Linked DNA regions of Homo sapiens: region 1 is linked to region 2. The links are contacts of gene promoters, found by promoter capture Hi-C in human tissues and cell types (Jung and others, 2019). All regions are on one chromosome and are shown on one strand. The core of a region is centred on a gene start or on the middle of the fragment in contact, and the rest is flanking DNA. Distances in the headings are between cores, read along the strand shown.

Region 1 (3,123 bases), core at 594-3,093, 330 kb before region 2:
CACAGTTCCGCTAGATCACAGTCAACCAAACCCCAACAGAGCCCAACACAGCCACAGTTCCGCTAGATCACAGTCAACCAAACCCCAACAGAGCCCGACACCACAGTTCCACTCACAACCAAACCCCAACAGAGCCCAACACTGCCACAGTTCCACTAGATCACAACCAAACTCCAGAGCCCAACACAGCCACAGTTCCACTAGATCACAGTCAACCAAACCCCAACAGAGCCCAACACCGCCACAGTTCCGCTAGATCACAGCCAAATTCCAACAGAGCCCAACACAGCCACAGTTCCGCTAGATCACAGTCAACCAAACCCCAACAGAGCCCAACACCGCCACAGTTCCACTAGATCACAGCCATATTCCAACAGAGCCCAACATAGCCACAGTTCAACTAGATCACAGTCAACCAAACCCCAACAGAGCCCAACACCGCCACAGTTCCACTAGATCACAGTCAACCAAACCCCAACAGAGCCCAACACCGCCACAGTTCCACTAGATCACAACCAAACTCCAGAGCCCAACACAGCCACAGTTCCACTAGATCACAGTCAACCAAACCCCAACAGAGCCCAACACCACCACAGTTCCACTAGATCACAGTCAACCAAACCCCAACAGAGCCCAACACCACAGTTCCGCTCACAACCAAACCCCAACAGAGCCCAACACCGCCACAGTTCTGCTGGATCGCAACCAACCAAATCCCAATGAAGCCACGCGTGTGGACAAGATAAACCCATGACTGCTGAGATCACAAGGTCCCTATCTGAGTTTCTCTGCGACAAATCTTCCCAAAGTTTATTAAGAACACACAGCTTAATGAAATCATTTGTTGATCTCCCACCCACCACCAGCAAGAGTTCTGAAACACATGATTCCTCCAACTCAAGATGGGCCAGAAAGCAAGTAGAAAACCAAGTTGGGTGCTCTATTTTAGTGGAGAAGCTTCCAGAACAGAGGGGCAGAAGATGGCCAACTGAAATGACAGACCATAAGAATTCACTGTGTGTTTCCTCTCTTTTTATCTAATCCCAGGACATGAACACATCTGTACTCAAATTTCAGGACAGTCCACACACTGAGGCCAAATGCAGATGACTTGGTTTCTCCTTCTGAATCCACCGTTGTGTTTTTCTCACACCACTGATAACTGAAAACAGACGAGATGCAAGCAGGCTGAGCAGCAGCAGCCAAGGGTAGGCACGGATGCCTCAGTCAGCCCTTTGTGTCTTGAAGCACGGGCAACTGGCTGGGCAACTTTCTCAGGGCTTCCTCTATCAGCAATCTGGGCTGGACCAGCAGGCATGTAAGTTAAAGAAAATGATAAAGCACAGGCCGCTTTTTTTATTTTAATCTCAAATGCGTGATCTGGATTTCCATTTTGAAAACAAATGCTGGAAAATGTGACCCCTATGCAAGGCCCCCTCCTAATGAGGTCTGCCTGTTATACATGCGTGACAGGCGCTTCATAGCTTGGAACTAACCGCACTGTATTTGATGTGCTCAGCACAGCAGGTGACTGTAGGTAGAAAATCATTAACAGTACCGTGAGCTCGCAGTCAGCAATCCAAAGGCCAAGTTCAACCAGGAAAAATAAAAACCACCACTGCCCTCTACATCCAAGAGACTTCATCTTACACTTCAGGCATTTAAATGTGCTGCTCAACCACAACGCATTAAGCGGGGAAGGGCTTTTAAAAATCCCAACATTTACACACAGAAACAGCAAGCACCATCCAGCCATAGCTGCCTACAAAGCACAGAAGACGTGGCCCCGCCAGGATTTCCAGCATCCGTCCCTGCTACAGGCAGTTGCCAGAGAGAACATAAACAAGGGTATCCAATGGAAGAGGGACAAGGGACAGGATTTACGTTGCACTGTTTATGCTATGGAATCTGTTGTTTTGGGACTCAAAACTTCAAGTTGCCGAGATGCCTGTATAATTGACTCAGAGGCCACGATATGGGCAGCTGGACATACCAATTCCCAGCCAGCCCCATCCAAACTGCCTCAAGGGGAGGGTTCTTTGACCTATTAAGTTTCCTGGGATAAGAAGAACTTTACAACCAGGCACAAGAAGGGATGCTAAAATAAATAAATGAGCACGCTGGGAGGCCGAGGCGGGTGGATCACCTGAGGCCAGGAGTTAGAGACCAGCCTGGCCAATGTGGTGAAACCCCATCTCTACTAAAAATACAAAAATGAGCCGGGTGCAGTGGCGGGAGCCTGTAGTCCCAGCCACTTGGGAGGCTGAGGCAGGAGAATCACTAGAACCCAGGAGGTGGAGGTTGCAGTGAGCCGAGATCGTGCCATCGCACTCCAGCCTGGGCGACAGAGTGAGACCCTGTCTCAAACAAAACAAAACAAAGGAAAGCAAAGCAAAACAAAACAAAACAAAACAAAAAAATTAGCCGGGCATGGTGGCACTGGGCTGAGGCACAAGAATCACTTGAACTGGGAGGTGGGGTTTGCAGTGAGCCAAGATCGTGCCAGCCTCGGTGACAAAGCAGGACTCTGTCTCAAAAAAATAAATAATAAATAAATAAATGTTGATTCTTTTTTTTTTTTTTTTTTTGAGACGGAGTCTCACTCTGTGGCCCAGGCTGGAGTGCAGTGGCACTATGTCCGCTCACTGCAAACTCCGCCTCCCGTGTTCACACCATTCTCCTGCCTCAGCCTCCTGAGTAGCTGGGACTACAAGCACCTGCCACCACGCCCAGCTAATTTTTGGTATTTTTTAGTAGAGATGGGGTTTCACTGTGTTAGGCCAGGATGGTCTCAATCTCCTGACCTCGTGATCCGCCTGCCTCGGCCTCCCAAAGTGCTGGGATCACAGGTGTGAGCCACCGCACCCGGCCGATTTTTTTTTTTTTAAATAAAGGTGAGGTTTCGCCATGTTGCCCAGGCTGGTCCCAAACTCCTGGCCTCAAGCGATCTTCCCGCCTCGGCCTCCCAGTGTGGAGATTACAGGTGTGGGCCACCGTGTCCAGCCTGAAATGAATAAATGAATCATAATGGCAAAGGTATCATCCTGAACCTTCACACAGCCAAAGAATTGTGTTTGTAAACAAATACAGCGCTGCCCACAGAATGTCGTCCTGTGATGACGG
Region 2 (3,002 bases), core at 105-2,604:
CCTAAAACACAACCTTGATCATGCTCATGCTCGGTCCTAAATTGTCAACGGTTTGCAGGTGCTACCAAAAACAAGTCTAAATGTCTTAGATCAACCAGTGTCACCAACAGGCCCTATGTTCTCTTGCATCGGTACCTTTGTTCTGTCGTTAGCTTCAGAATATAAGTGCTGGAAGAGACCATCTGGTCCAATCTCATTTTACAAATGAGGAAACTGAGGCCTGGATAGATTGAGTGACTGACCAGCACCTAGTCAGAGATCAAGTTTGACTCATGAAAAAGAAGCCTAGAGCAGCCTCGGGGTTGGTATCAGACAAGATTCTACCAGTTGGCCACCCGTTGAATACCCTCTCTACACAACTCTGATCCTTAAAGCTGTGGATCTTTGAGTCCCATCAAGCACGGCCTCCTGTAGGAAGCCTCTGTGATGACCCAGTTGGGAGTCTGGACTCTTGGGCATAGATGTGAGCCTCTAGGTGACTGGGAATCGTGTGGGAGTCCTGGCTCCCCTACTGCATTTTAAGCAAACTCTGATCTTTGATTTTCCTCCATTCTTATCCCAACGACTCGGTCCATAGTCGGGGAGCGGCAAAAGTCTACTCAAGAAGGAGGGTAATGTCTATACTGCCAGGGAGGCACGATTCACCCGCTCAGACACCAGCCAGCAACGAGGCGCTGAGTCCAAAATTTCCACCTACACCGCGTGGTTCACGGGCCGCACCTTAACTCCTTTTGACTCCAAACCCAAAAAAACTCGATAGCGTTTGGACTCGGCAGAAAGCCTGCTGGCTGCAATCACAGGATACGTTTCTGGAAGTCTTGAGGCGCAGCCTCTTTCTTCACCCTCCACGCGGCGAACTTTGACGCGCATTCGGTGACCGGTCCCCAAACATGACTTGGCATCAAGAGGACACAGCTCCCCTTACCGAGGGAGCTCAGGTCCCGGGCGCGCCGCGGCCCCGCCAGCTTTCCAGGCTGGCTCAGTCCTCGACCCGGGGTGACGGCCAAGCCAGCCAAGGGCAGCGGGAAAGTGACGCTGGGCTGGAGAGGTGTGGTGGCGAGTGCGGCCCCCGGGGAGCTAAGAGCAGCCGCAGCAACTGGGTCTCAGGCTGGGCGAGGCAAGGGCTCGTAGGCTGGGCTCGGAAGACTGAAAGGGGTGCCCACCTGACTCCAGGACGCACGGAGGGCGTGGGGCAGGAGCTGGACCTGGGCCGCCTCGGGCCGCCCCGGGGCTTGCAGTCCAGCCCCTCTCCGCCCTAGGGAGGGAAAAAGGGAGGGGAGAAGGCCGAGCCCGCCTCCAGCCCCAGCCCCAGCCCCAGCGAGGCTCGGCGGCCGCGGCTGCTGGAGGGAAACCAGAGGCACCTCCCCGAGCGGAGAAACCAGTTTGGCCGGTCCGGCGGAGCGGAGGCAAAAGGGCGGCTGCAGAGGAAGGGTGCACGGACGCGGGGCGGGGAAAGGCGGGGGAGCCACTAGCGAGCCGCGAGAGCCGGAGGTGCCGCCGCCAACTAGACACGCTTCCCCGGGCCCCCGGCCAGCCCCCGTGCGCCATGCAGCGCTAGCGCGGCGGCCAGGGCTGGGGCCGGGCGGGCGGCGGCAGCGGCCAGGTGCGCAGCGAGCGCTCCGAGCGGCGCGCACCAGGCGGATGCCCCAGCCGGGGCCCAGCGAACGCCAGGTAAGCAGGGGTGCGGCGCCGGGGGCCCCCAGACCTTCCCAAGCCCCTTGGCCCGGCGGTGTCCTGCAGGTTCCCTGGCCGCTCCCGCCGCACTTTGGAGATCCGGGATGCGGCGGCAGCAGCTGTCAGCGCCCTCGGACTCCCGAGCCCGCACAGGTGGGATTTGGGTGGAGGTGCTGGGAGCCCCCGAGGCCTCGGGGACGGCGAGACACGGCCGGCTGGGCAGGCAGCGCTGCGGAGAGTTCCGTGGGGTTTTCACCTGCCTAGAGGAGGGAAATCTCGGGGTGTTTGGGTTCTTCGATCGGTAGCGACACACATGTCCGGGGGTTAAGCCAGGTAGGGCTTGCGGCTCCTTGGGGGATGCCGCTGGCTCCTGTGCGGTGGCTACCGCCCCTCTGGAAGACCCCGGTGACCGGGTCCTGCTGGGGCGCTCTTTGGGAGCAGATGCCAACGTGTCCGAAAAGGACTTGCGGGCCAAACGTATCTGACCGCGGCCCACCTGCCGGGAGGGATGGAGGGGGTGAGATCGCTCTCCTCCCCAGCTCCTGTGGCAGGGCCAGGTACTCCCAGACATCTTCCGTGCGCTTTATTGTGGGATGGGGAGGGGAGGTGATGGGGAAGACCGACACCACTGTTTTTCCGGTGACTGTCGGGTCGCGTCCGCCAGCCCCGCTGAGATGGCTGCAGGCATCTCCTTCCCTCAGCAGTTTGGTGCCCTGCGCTGTCACCTCGCTGTGTGCACGAGGAGGGGCAACTTGTTGGGGGGCGCGGGGAGATGTTGCAGAGAATGGCCCAGTGCTTTAACACCCCTCGCCCCCACTTCTCCAACTCCCTCCTTCTCCCCAAAGTGAAAGAAAAGTTCTGAAGTGTCTGCCCAACTTTTCCGACGGAGGCGTGTGCCTGTGGTCCCTGCCGGGGGTTGGTGGCTGGTTGCGGGGGGGGGCGGTGCTCGGAGCGCAGATCCGTGACGGTTGTACGGGGGAGACTGGATTGCAGTAAGGATGCAAATTGGGGAAGGGGGATTGACACGCAGAAGTAAGGAGGACTTGGGCCGCGCTTCTGCCCGGTGAGTACCCGCTCAACCCTACCCGACCCCCTTGGCCTGCACGCGCTGCCCTTGGGGGCTGCAAGCTCTTCCTGGGTAGCTCCAGACGCCGCCGAGTTCCTCTCCCGGAAACTGGCCTCCCTGTTGGCGTGAGAAAATATTCGCTCCCATCTTCCTGGTTGCATTGCCTTCAAAATTTTGCCACTACCCATGGGAAACTAAAAAAAGAAAAAACTAGTGGGATGTTTGGAGATCACCCGGCACACGGTAGGTTATCGATGAAGGT

The links. Contacts are between HindIII fragments. The study calls those that stand out against the background at their distance.
Region 1: a fragment that was not itself captured here is called in contact with the fragment with the promoter of ATP8B1 in region 2 in 2 of the 25 tissues and cell types used here (heart left ventricle and pancreas).

Annotation. Positions count from the first base shown.
Region 1 is chr18:58,127,306-58,130,428 of GRCh38, reverse strand. All of the region lies in intron 1 of NEDD4L (NEDD4 like E3 ubiquitin protein ligase), which reads right to left. Among named protein-coding and RNA genes, the nearest start is that of NEDD4L, 85 kb to the right of the region's middle. The HindIII fragment of the contact is 9,807 bases long and covers 1-3,123 here.
Region 2 is chr18:57,801,667-57,804,668 of GRCh38, reverse strand. ATP8B1 (ATPase phospholipid transporting 8B1) reads left to right here and starts at 1,354. Exons shown (of 28, transcript NM_001374385.1): 1 at 1,354-1,671. RefSeq lists an enhancer at 1,097-1,734. The HindIII fragment of the contact is 14,543 bases long and covers 1-3,002 here.